Regions from separate parts of the Homo sapiens genome. Here region 1 is linked to region 2. Evidence: promoter capture Hi-C in 16 types of primary human blood cells and fetal thymus (Javierre and others, 2016). All regions are on one chromosome and are shown on one strand. The core of a region is centred on a gene start or on the middle of the fragment in contact, and the rest is flanking DNA. Distances in the headings are between cores, read along the strand shown.

Region 1 (6,176 bases), core at 407-2,906, 340 kb before region 2:
TATACAAGGAAGAATGTAAATTTTAAATATTTGCAGTTGATAAGTATAATTTATTATATGATAGTACTTGACACATACCAGCTTACCAAGAAAAATGCTTGAACGTTGCATTCAAGCAAATTAATTTTACATCCTGTCCTGGGGTCAAACTGTGGCTCTGGCTGACTGGCCAACAGTTGGTAGGCCAACTGCCAAAACAATCAGTGGGATCACTGTGCAATCCGATCCCCTCATTAAGACAACTGAGACGCTAACAACCAAATCCAATGGACTCTATAGCAATCGAATCAATTGCCCCACAATCAGATAGAACAGCTCTCCAATCAAATTAATTTAATTGTATTTGGTTTAGTTAAGTGACATGGTGCCTGTTCTCTCCTCATACATAGCATGACATAACGCTAGCTTTTGAAGGGATCCTGAAGAACAACTAGTTCTATGCTTCTCAAATTGGGAAAAAACTATGGGCAGTGTACACAGTCACCAGATAAATGTGGTGTGTCTTTCTGGATTGCTAAATTATCTTAAAATTTGATGGGAAGGGGGAGGATACGTTTATATATGTAAACAAGTACACATATATCATGGATTATGTATACTCTGACAACACTAACAAAAATTTCAATCTCAGTGATTTAAAACAGCAAAGCTTATTTCTTGTTTATGCTACACATCCGTCAGGGTCAGCTGGGGGCTGAGTTCCTAGCATTCTTCATTCCATGATTCAGATGAACAGAGAAGCCTTTATCTAGACCTCTACGTATTGCCTTAGTGGAAGAAAAGACTACAGTAGGCCGGGCGCGGTGGCTCACACCTGTAATCCCAGCACTTTGGGAGGCCGAGGTGGGCAGATCATGAGGTCAGGAGATCGAGACCATCCTGGCTAACAGGGTGAAACCCCATCTCTACTAAAAAAAAGTACAAAAAATTAGCCAGGCGTGGTGGCGGCCACCTGTAGTCCCAGCTACATGGGAGACTGAGGCAGGAGAATAGCGTGAACTCGGGAAGTGGAGTTTGCAGTGAACCGAGATTGCGCCACTGCACTCTGGCCTGGGGGACAGAGTGATACTCTGTCCCCCACTAAAAAAAAAAAGACAACAGTAAATCCAGAGGAAATAATGAGCTAGATCTTAATACTCCCACCTGGGAGTAGAATATGTCACTTCCACACACACACTTCATTGGTCAAATCATGTCACGTTTGACCCAGCTATTTTCAAAGCGGGGCAGGGAAGGGCAATCCTACCATGTGTCCAGAAGAACTAGAAATATTTGGTAAACAGTAGAGTCACCTGTCAGCCAAAGATGGCTGCACTCAGGTGAGTTGAACAAAAGTTGTAGTGAGCCCTGGCATGTCTGAGGAAGACCTGGACAGGCACTGGAACCTGGAGGAAGGAGAATATAAGGCTCAAGATGGAAAATCAGGAGCCAGATAGCACTTTCAAGGAAAACGTAATTTTAGGCATCATAACTAGAAAAATTAACCAGCTTCCAGAAGCAGAAAGGAAACTACTTGAACATGGATCAATATATGTTGAACTTAATGCTGTTCTCCGTGGCCTAATAGCAAACAGTCTTTTTCTATGCATCTTGAACATGACACAGGCTCATATAGCTGTCGGCTCACCAATGGCAGAGAACCCATTTCTGATAGTACATGTATTTTACAGAAGTTTTGTAAATTTACCTTTGAATTGAGGTCATTGGAATTTGAAACCCATACCATAAAATGAGGTGGATTGGTTGGTCTTGTTTTTGGTGGTCTTTTCTTGACTATACCTATGAATGGTGGCTTAGAAGCCAGATATGAATCAACTCTGTTATCAGAGAAAGGAAACATCTTAAGTTACTGGATTAGAATTTCTAAGCCTGACTTTAGAAAGATGTTGTGTATTAGTCAGGGTTCTCTAAAGGGACAGAACTAATAGGATAGATGTATATATGAAGGGGAGTTTATTAAGGAGTGTTGGCTCACACAATCACAAGGTGAATCCCACGGTAGGCCGTCTGCAAGTTGAGGAGCAAGAAGCCAGTCCGAATCCCAAAACCTCAAAAGTGGGGAAGCCGAGAGTGCAGCCTTCAGTCTGTGGCCAAAGGCCCAAGACCCCGTGGCAAACCACTTGTGTAAGTCCAAGAGTCCAAAAGCTGAAGAACTTGGAGTCTGATGTTCGAGTGTAGGAAGCATCCAGCACGGGAGAAAGATGAAGGCTGGAAGACTCAGCAACTCAAGTCCTTCTACACTCTTCCGCCTGCTTTACTAATAGCCTCGCTGGCAGCTGATTAGATGGTGCCCACCCAGATTGAGGATGGGTCTGCCTCTCCCAATCCACTGACCCAAATGTTAATTTCCTCTAGCAACACCCTCACAGACACACTCAGGAAAAATACTTTGCATCCTTCAATCCAATCAAGTTGATACTCAATATTATCTCTTACATGTTGGTTCCCATTTTGCTCCAGACTGTGTTTGCAGCATTCCTTTGGTATAGACAATATACAGTACTTATAAAAGCCCTTCAGTTACCAGAACCTAGCCTAGAAATTCACCGATTTTAAACAATATGTACACAAATGGTAATGAGAAAGATTTGGTGAACAGTATTAATGGCTACCACAGAGTAGGGTGCAAAGTTAAAATCTTTAGGGTAAAACATAAAGCTTCAAAATAGCCACTAAAATATTGACTAAATAAGGGAATCATAGAAAATGACATGTACTTGCCTGAAATGTTTTATCTTAAAAAACATAAATGTATTTTCACCCCCTTGTCTTTTGATGTCTAAGGGGATTTCTATGAGAATGGGTTCATCGATTGTCATTTCCCATTGTCTTTCTTGCTCATAATAGTTCTAAGTGCATTGTCCATGTGAGAAATTCAAGCCACTAGAAAAGCAAATGGTCTGAAAAGTCCCTCAAAATGTTCTACAATTCTTTAAAAGTCATCTCATAAACACATTACTGGAAGCAATTTTTTAATGACTTGCATTAATCATAAATTTCCAAGCCATTTAATTTAGTGTTTCCACATTCACTATTCATTTCAAAATATGTTAAACATACAGACAAGAATCTATCCTTGCATATCAACCACCTTGTTAGTTCAGCTTTCATAGAAATACCAGCTCTACTTCTTTTTGTACTCATATTCTTTACATTTAAATAATATTTAATTAAGTCATGTTATGTAAGTACAAAAGACACAAACAGTTTTGGGGATAATATGACTCAAGTAGCAGGAACAGAAATGTAAGGGCGTATCAGTGGCATACGGGCCACTAGCGTGAACCATTCCTGCTCGTCAGGAACTAGTAAGTAGACAGCGCCTGATGATAATCTGGTAAAGTGATTAAATTAAAAGACAGTGGATTAAAATTTGGTGGAAAAGTTGAGGAGCACTGATTCTAGTCCAATATTCTTATATTGCAATTAACGATCCTAAAGCTTAGAGGCTGTAAATTATTTAAATTCATTTATTTACTCATCCATTTACTTAGTGGTACATTCATAGGCAGTATAGTATAGTGGATAAGAATATAGTTCTGACACCAGATTGCCTGGGTTTTGATCCCAGTTCTGCTTGTGACCTTCAGCAAGTTTCTTAATGTTTCTTGTTCTCAGTTTCCTCAACTATAAAATGGTGAGAATAGGACCTATCTCACAGGGTTATTGTGAGGGTTAAATAAGATAATGGATGAAAGTGTTATGTAAATGTTAATTTATTATGATAAATTAATTCATCTGATGAATATTTGTTGAATAAATACCATGTGCCATGTGTTGTCCCTTCCCTCATGGAGTTCATAGTTGAATGTTCAGAGTCAGAAAATTGGCAGTAAGCTTTGAAATAATTTGTTACAATTTAGTTACATTCTGTCAGGAATTACAGGGTGGCATGAAGGAGGCTTTCATCTCTATATCCTCATTTTAGTACAGAGTATGGCACATACTAAGTGCTCATTAGAATATGTCTGGAATTAACAAATAAACATATGACTTCCCCAAAAATAATACTTATTTAATAGATAAGATGAACAAAAAGTAAAGTTATCTAATCTAGTGTTTCCAGTTCACTAAAATGCCTTCTTTAAATAGGTTTTTTAAGATTTGAACTTAGGTTAGTAGATCCAGAATTCTAACTTTTACATGATAAGTATTAGTGCATTTATGTTTATAAACTTAGGAAAAATACCAATAGAACATTATTACACATTTGAACCATGACTTCTATGTGCTTCAAAATGAGTTTCTTCATTTGTTGTGTTTTTTTTTAATTATATGAATCTTTTGACTAGCAAGGAATGTTTTTGAAAGATAAGTAAACAACGAAAGTTGAAATGTTCTATTGCCCCCAAAACCTAACCAAACAGACCCACCATTTAGCAGATCTCTGGGGCCTTCTCTAACTCTGATGACAAACACATGAAGGAAAACTTGGGCTCTCTGGAGCTCCTGGAGGAAATGCGGGAGGGATGTGCAAGTCTAGGTAGCTCAGTTCAAACTGAAGATTTACCCCCATAAACAGTGAAAAAAGATGTAATGATGCCAATAAAACTTTTCCAAGATGCACGATATGTTCTCCTGACTTCTTAAATAGAATGTTCTGAAAATTCAGTGTCCAGTTTTAGCATAGTCAATTATAGCTAAAAAATCCTCCCTAACTGGAGTTGTAAAGAAAAGAGTGGCCCCAGTCTATCTCTGTTTGTTCCTATTTCTCCCATGCGTAATAATTTCTGAGATGTGTAAAATGTGACATGACTGACAATGAGCAAACATATTTCTGGTTCCAAACATATACTTACCCCAAATCAAGGCCAAATCAAGATCCCATTATCTGCTAAGTATGCATATTTTTATGAACATTACAGGGCAGAATATTTAATATTTGAGATCTTTGGTGTTTAGGTTTTTTATAGGCACCCCTTGATGCAGATATTTGGCAGTGCTTTGCTATTTGGTTATTATCAAGAATTAACATAGATGATTAAGCCTTCAAAAGTCCATTTTGCTTGTGTTGTAGACTCCTCTGTTGTTCTTTGAAAGTCTGAACTATTAATACATCTCCTCATCTTTACTTATTCCATTTTCCTTCCTCTCTCCCTCTCCGCTCCCTTATCTTTTCTCTATCTCCCTCTCATACTCTTTTTCTCTCCTTCTCCTTCTTCTTCTTCTTCTTCTTCTTCTTCTTCTTCTTCTTCTTCTTCTTCTTCTTCTTCTTCTTCTTCTTCTTCTTCTGCTTGTTCTTCTGCTTGTTCTTCTTCTTCTTCCTCTTCTTCTTCCTTTACCTTCTCCCTGTCTCCTTTCACTCCTCATTCTCTTTTCCCATTTTTTCCACCTTCCCTCCCTTTTACCCACACTCACTCCTCTTTCCCCATCAGCAGAAACCTACATAGTAGCTTTGGATCTTTGTCTACAGTTGTCCTGGCATTTTTTGTTTGTTTGTTTTTTATTTTGTTTTTCCATAAGTTATTGGGGTACAGGTGGTATTTGGTTACATAAGTAAGTTCTTTAGTGGTGACTTGTGAGATCCTGGTGCACCCATCACTCAAATACACTGCACCATATTTGTTGTCTCTTATCCCTCACCCCCTCCCCCTCTTCCCCCAAGTCCCCAAAGTCCATTCTATCATTCTTATGCTTTTGCATCCTCATAGCTTAGCTCCCACCTATCAGTGAGAACATACGATGTTTGGTTTTCCATTCCTGAGTAGCTTCACTCAGAATAATAGTCCCCAATCCCATTCAGCTCATTGCAAATGCTGTTAATTCATTCCTTTTTATGGCTGAGTAGTATGCCATCACATATATATGTGATATATATATATATCACATATATAATATATATGACATATATATCACATATATATCACATATATAATATATATGACATATATATCACATATATATCACAGTTTCTTTATCCACTCATTGATTGATGGGGATTTGGGTTGGTTCCACGATTTTGCAATTGTGAATTGTGCTGCTATACATGCGTGTGCAAGTATTTTTTTTTCATAATGGCTTCTTTTCCTCTGGGTAGATACCCAGTAGCGGGATTGCTGGATCAAATGGTAGTTTAAGTCACCGGATTTCATTGAGGTGTGTCTCCTAAGCCTGCCAACCATTTAGGACTTCAGATCTGGAGATAGAATGATACATATTTAAAGAAGAACTGATAA
Region 2 (6,196 bases), core at 1,406-3,905:
TGGACAAAACTGTTATCAATAAAGATGTCTTCAGAGACCCTGCTCTTAACCACAAGGCCCAATGGGAGGCCAAGGTCAAGTTTGAAGAGAGGAACAGATGGGCAAGAACAAGTGGTTCTTTGAGAAGCTGCAGTTTTAGATACTTTGTTTTGGTCATTAAAATTTTTTTTTAAAAATTAAGAAGGATGGATGGACAGATATAATAATGGCTAGATATGTGATGAGGCAAATATAGCAAAACGTTAATTACAGACTATAGGTGCTCGGTATCAGGATGCTTACTGTACAATTCTTCCAATTTTTCTATATGTTTGAAATTTTTCATAATAAAATATTGGGAGGGAAATAGATTCCATATTTTCTGATATTGTAAAAATGATTAAAATTACATTAAAAGTTCAATTATTCATTCAAAGTGGAAGTGCTTAAAGTTTAATGATATTTATGCAAGTTTTACTCATTACGTTTTATAGTGAGGTGTGCAGAAAGAGACTCATTATTGCATTTGTATTTCTAGCAATGTCTAGTTCCTGGCCCTCGCTGAACTTCCCAATTATCTTGTGGTCCTGGATCATCTTTAGAAAACCATGAGGAATACCAATGGGCACAATTATTGAAAGGTCACCACCCCCTCACTTGATTTTTGCTTTGGCAAATGATTTTGTGATCTGTTCTTAGCAATTAGAATTTAATCACCTTGGCTAAATCAATATGCAATAAAGAAATAAGCAGCCCTTTTTAAGTGGTCTATCTCCATAACAGAGCCATTTCATGTTTTTGTACTGCAGAGGTCATTTGCTGTCAATATGCCACCTTCCTCAACATCCTTTTATCGATCACAGCCATCAAGAACTCATTCCAATTGTCGTGATTTTTTAATCAAGTTCATAATGAATTTGCCCATCTTATCCTATTCCTAAAGTTAAAATGATCTGGCCAATTCCACAACTTCCTGTAGTTTGAGTTTTCACTGCATTGTCTTAATTGAGCAAGAAGTCTTTGAAATGGTTTTCAAAATAAACAGCTTCCAATGGGGCATCTGAAACACCAAGAGTAATCACTGTTGTTAGCTTACGCTCAGGAGGGGATAGGATAAGGGGGCAGATGGTGGTTTGTCCCTCAGAAACTCTTGCCTCATTTTCATCACCTAATTCTTAAAAATTCTTTTTCCAGTTGCCTTTGCTGACAGGCAGTGAAACAATAACTTAGTAAATTTACAAAAAAAAATTAAAAGCACCTCGTGTCAAAAATAAGCACAGAGTTATGAAAGAGAGAAATGCTGGACTTCTAAGGGTTCCATGTGCTTGTGACCCCACAGCTGGAGCTGCCACTGCAGAGAGGCAGTGTGGAGGGGGTAGTCTGTCCAGGAGGAGGGCTGATGAGCCCAGAACCTCTCCTGGATCTTTCTGGTCATTCCCTATCCAGGAAGAAAACCATTTAAAAGTGCAAGGTGATATTCAAGGTGTCTTCCTTTGTCAACTTGACATACAGTTCTAAGTGAATTGCTTAGGCTATTTTGCATAATCATATGTAAATTGAATCAATTAAATCCCCACCAAAGTTGTCTTGAAATATAGGATGTTTTTGCATAACCAGAGGTACAACAATATTTGTCCGTTCCCCTAGAGGGGAAGGTGTCACTGATGTGCAGGAATTCAGCCACAAGGACAAAAACAAACCATCCTTTTTAAGAACTGTTAAAACCTAATGCAGTGAGCATTTTCTATCAGCCAGGAAAAATGATCAGTAGTTAAGGGCAATGCATGGTTGTAGCATCTCACCTACATACTCTTTTTAAACATGACAGTCTAGCAATATGGATAAAGATTGAAAACAGTTTGCAATATTCTTTGAAACAACAGACTAACTGATACCCTGTTACAGGGCACCATGGAGCAAAACATCCTAGTGAGTTTCAAAAAAGACGAATTAGACAAATGTAGGAACAAGAAGCATGTCTGCATGCGATTAGTGGCCCCTCTGGCTTGAAGGTTAAAACTACCATCAACACAATAAAAAGATGGGAGACATAAACAAATAAAAGCGTCTGCATCTACCAACTACAGGCTCCAAGGAACAATCGACCTGCTAAGTAATTTAATAGTACAAACTAGATAACAGTAGGAAAGTTTTGACTACTTACACCAATTCTGCAAATACCAGCAAGTACTGCAGAAGCACCCATTTCCTGCTATGCTATTGAAACCACTCATCACACATCTTTCTTGAGCATATTGCTTAGGGAACGGGTCTCTGCATTGCTGATGATTCACTGTCAATTTCCATTAAAGAAATAGTTCAAGAGGAAAGTGAATATTTAGAGTGAGGTCATCAAGGATATTTTTGTTCAAAAATATTTGTTAATACTTTTTTACTAGTTGACATGTATTTGCTGGGTGCCCATCATGTGATGCTCTGTATGAGATGCTGACTAGTTACAGTTCATCAAGTTTCTGCGGATGACATGACATAACTTTAGGTGGAAATGGAGGCAGTTTACCTCCACCTGAAGCAAGTCCATTTTCCATAGTTTGAAGCATACAATTGCTACCTGTTGGGTAGTTATTTGAGAAAAGGAAGCCTTGTGGGCAGGAGAGCACTCTCTATAGGAAGCCTGTCATCTGCCTGAAGCAGGACAAGTCAGGACAAGTTTCAGAAGATAAGCATGTAGAGAAGACAGGATGAGTGTGAGCTGTTGAATGGCGATTTGGTTTTTTTCTGAAGCAGTTACTATTTGCCTTTTTAAGGGAAAGAGTCCCAGAAGTTTTCAGCCCTCACCTGAGGACACCGGTCCCAGAGCCACAGTCAAAGCGGAACTCCACGTGGCCCCCTGCCAAGTTGATGGACAGGAAGTCTTTGCTGCCTGTGTCATAGCTGTACAGGAGGACACCATCTCCTGAGTCTGGCCGAAATGTGATCTCAAATTCCATGAAGGAAAGGTAATGCTGGGGCTCCAGTGGCCAGGGAGTTGCAGCGTAAGATCTCAGAGACTCTCTGAACTGAGGAATGGTCAAGGTGAAAGCTGAAAAAACAAGCATGGTGTTAGAAATCCCTCTGTGGCAGAAACTGGCCAGATGTGCACCCATAGCTGTGTTCTTTCCCTCCTGGGTACAGACCTAAACTACAATTCCCAGCAGCCCTGCAGTTAGGTTGGTGGTGTGACTGAATTCTGGCCAGTAGAACATGGGTGGAAGAATCATAGAGCACCCTAAGTCTGGCCCCTAAAACTTCCCTCCATCCTCCATGCTCTTTCTCTCCTCTCACGTGCTGGCAGGATGCAAGTATCAGTGGAGGACTCTAAGGCCCTAGAAGAGCCATTAGATGGAAGGAAACTGTGTCCCTGTATAACTGTGTGGAGCAGAACCCCCTCTCTCACCACCATCTTTGACCTGCAGTGATTTTGTAATATGAGCAAGAACCAGCCTTGATTATGTAAGGCTACTGAAATATGAGCTGGTATGTAACAGCATTGGCTTACCCTGACTCACATGCCCTCTTTTAGGTGACATGAGATTTGAGATCACAAAAGTTTTCCCCAATATGGTATCTTAGGTCCAAATCTGAATTAGGGAAGAATTTGACTAGTTTTGTGATCTTAGCCTCAGTTTTATTTTCTTTTTATTTTAATTTCAGAATTCTGCAAAAATGATTTTCCAAAATCACTTTTGGAACCCTCCATGATTTTCCAAAATCTTTGAAATTTTCTGTTATTATTTGCCTGTGTGAGCGCACATATGTGTATTTGTGTGCATGTGTTTCCATGTTTATATACACATGTGTGTGCATGTATATATATTTACATACTCTCTGTATATACAGTATTAAAATGTGGCATAATTTAGTAGAACAGTACAAAAAAAGGTTACTTTTGTCCCATCACATTGTTAACGTTTCTGTGTCTACCTTCCCTATCTTTTTTTTTTTTCCCAAGATGGAGTCTCGCTCTGTCACCCAGATTGGAGTACAGTGGTGCTATCTCGGCTCACTGCAACCTCCGCCTCCTGGGTTCAAGCAATTCTCCTGCCTCAGCCTCCCGAGTAGCTGGGATTACAGCTGTGCACCACCACACCCAGCTAATTTTTGTATTTTTAGTAGAAACGGAGTTTCACCACGTTGGCCTCGTGATCCGCCCACCTCGGCCTCCCAGAGTGCTGGGATTATAGGCGTGAGCCACTGCGCCTGGCCTCATCTTCCCAATCTTTTATCAGAAATTGACAGAAATTCTAAAGAGCATGAGCCTGAGCTTTAAAGGCTTTGAATTCAGTCTGATACAAACCATACCAATACAGGCTTTTTAAAAGTTATTCAAGGGCCAAGAGGAGCCCACTGATTCTTAGCATCTTGAAATGAACATATGTTTGGCTGAGGGACGGAGGTGCCCTGCAGTAAGAAGTGCTGAAAGGCTCAACATCAGATGAGTGAGTTCTCATTACCAAACAAATTTTGGCACTCAGAGACACTCCAACCTTGTTTAAAAAGTTTCCCCCATCTCTCCCAACAAAGCAATGTTGATCCCATAAAAATGTATGGGGCTTTGTTAGATTTGTTAAAAGTACATTGATGAGGCCTGGCGTGGTGGCTCACGCCTGTAATCCCAGCACTTTGGGAGGCCGAGGCGGGTGGATCACTTGAGGTCAAGAGTTTGAGAGCAGCCTGGGCAACATGGTGAAATCCCATCTCTACTAAAAATACAAAAATTAGCTGGGCGCCTGTAGTTCCAGCTACTCGGGAGCTGAGGCAGAAGAGAATCACTTGAACCCGGGAGGCAGAGGTTGCAGTGAGCCGAGATGCGCCACTGCACTCCGGCCTGGGTAAGAGAGGGAGCCTTTGTCTCAAAAACAAACAAACAAATTAACAAAGAAACTATATTGATGATAAAGTACATCTACACAAATTAACATGCAGATAGAAACCGCCTTCAACTTGCTTCTTTCTCACCATCTTCACAGTGTCGACCTTTAAACCCAAGGGGACAGAGGCAAATGTAGGAGTCGGCTTTGATTGCTGTGCAGGTGCCACCATGGATGCACGAGGCCTCATCACAGATTCCACTGCTGCATTCCCCTAAATACAGAATGGGAATTACAAAGCCAATCCTCCATGTGTGCCAGTCCAACACAGTGGCGCTGACCCCACCAGCAGCTCATGGTTCTGAATAAATACATTTCAGTTCTTACTCCTGTTGATTTGCAGCTCTGCACAACTGCAAATGGGCTTTCAGGATAAGTGGAACCTGCTCTTCATTTTAATTTGATTTTGGTTTGTCCTGTATGAAGAGCCATAGAGACTTTAAAAAACATGATGGACACAATAAATCAAATAATACATTTCTGGGCAATTTTATGACCACTAACTGGGATGACTAAGCTGTTTCTGCTTTAATTCATCTCTCTCTTGCTCCCAACAGAGCATATTTCAATCCCTCCAATGTCAACAGGGTGTTTATGTTAAAAGCATTCTAAATTGCATGACCCCAATTAGCTTAAGTGCTGCTGCCTTGTTGGTTCAAAGTTGAGACAAGCAAGGTAGGCACAGAAGGAGTTACCCAGCCACGTCTAAGCTGATTAACTCACCTGGATTGTCAACTTCTCTGTCTGGGGTAGGGAGCAGGGAGGGAGGGCCCCATAATACATTGGCACATGGGTTTCAGAATCCCTATTTCTACTTCCAAAGTTACACCCTGATGAGGGACAGAAAGGTGGCCTGTGGTAAGAAGGCTGAAAGGCTCAACATCTGATGAGTGAGTTCTCTTCACCAAACAGATCAGAGAGATCCAGAAAGGGTATCCTTTGTCATTTTCAAGTGCAGGTCATCAGAGGAAAACAAATGGACTTTTCATGGGCTGTTTTTCTTCTGCTTCTTTGTGTTTTCTCTTTGTGTGTAAGAAATCAGTTAGACAGATGGACCACCATCTGGCCCAGAACCACATGAGGGAGTACAAAACACTTTTTCTGGGGGTGGAGGTAGAAGGGCGTGCCTCTGGAAGTGAAGGGTCCAGCTGTGCTCTCTCCCAGTCTTCAAGGCTGCCCTCTGCATGAGCTGGTAGCCCACCCTGTGAGGGCAGGAGCCCTCCTTGGCCTGAGTGTGTCATCTCGGCAGGATGAATCTCTCACCCTTCCCTCCTTGAATTGGTCCAGTCTTTTCATAAAGACTCACTGGGAGGAGGGGTAAAGGCCAGGCACCCAGGTTAGACCCA

What was found. Contacts are between HindIII fragments. The CHiCAGO score rates a contact against its expected background, and 5 or more counts as called.
Region 1: a contact is called between a fragment that was not itself captured here and the fragment with the promoter of EGFLAM-AS1 in region 2, in 1 of 17 cell types (M1 macrophages). The highest score is 5.2, in M1 macrophages.

What each region holds. Positions count from the first base shown.
Region 1 is chr5:38,759,525-38,765,700 of GRCh38, reverse strand. All of the region lies in intron 2 of OSMR-DT (OSMR divergent transcript), which reads left to right. It also overlaps the pseudogene LOC100132789. Among named protein-coding and RNA genes, the nearest start is that of LINC01265, 42 kb to the right of the region's middle. RefSeq lists a silencer at 80-374. The HindIII fragment of the contact is 2,009 bases long and covers 652-2,660 here.
Region 2 is chr5:38,423,835-38,430,030 of GRCh38, reverse strand. EGFLAM-AS1 (EGFLAM antisense RNA 1) reads left to right here and starts at 2,655. Exons shown (of 2, transcript NR_046737.1): 1 at 2,655-2,939; 2 at 4,950-5,176. It overlaps EGFLAM (EGF like, fibronectin type III and laminin G domains), which reads right to left. Exons shown (of 22, transcript NM_152403.4): 13 at 4,939-5,064; 14 at 2,779-3,022. It also overlaps the pseudogene LOC124901186. RefSeq lists an enhancer at 2,234-3,433. The HindIII fragment of the contact is 14,108 bases long and covers 1-6,196 here.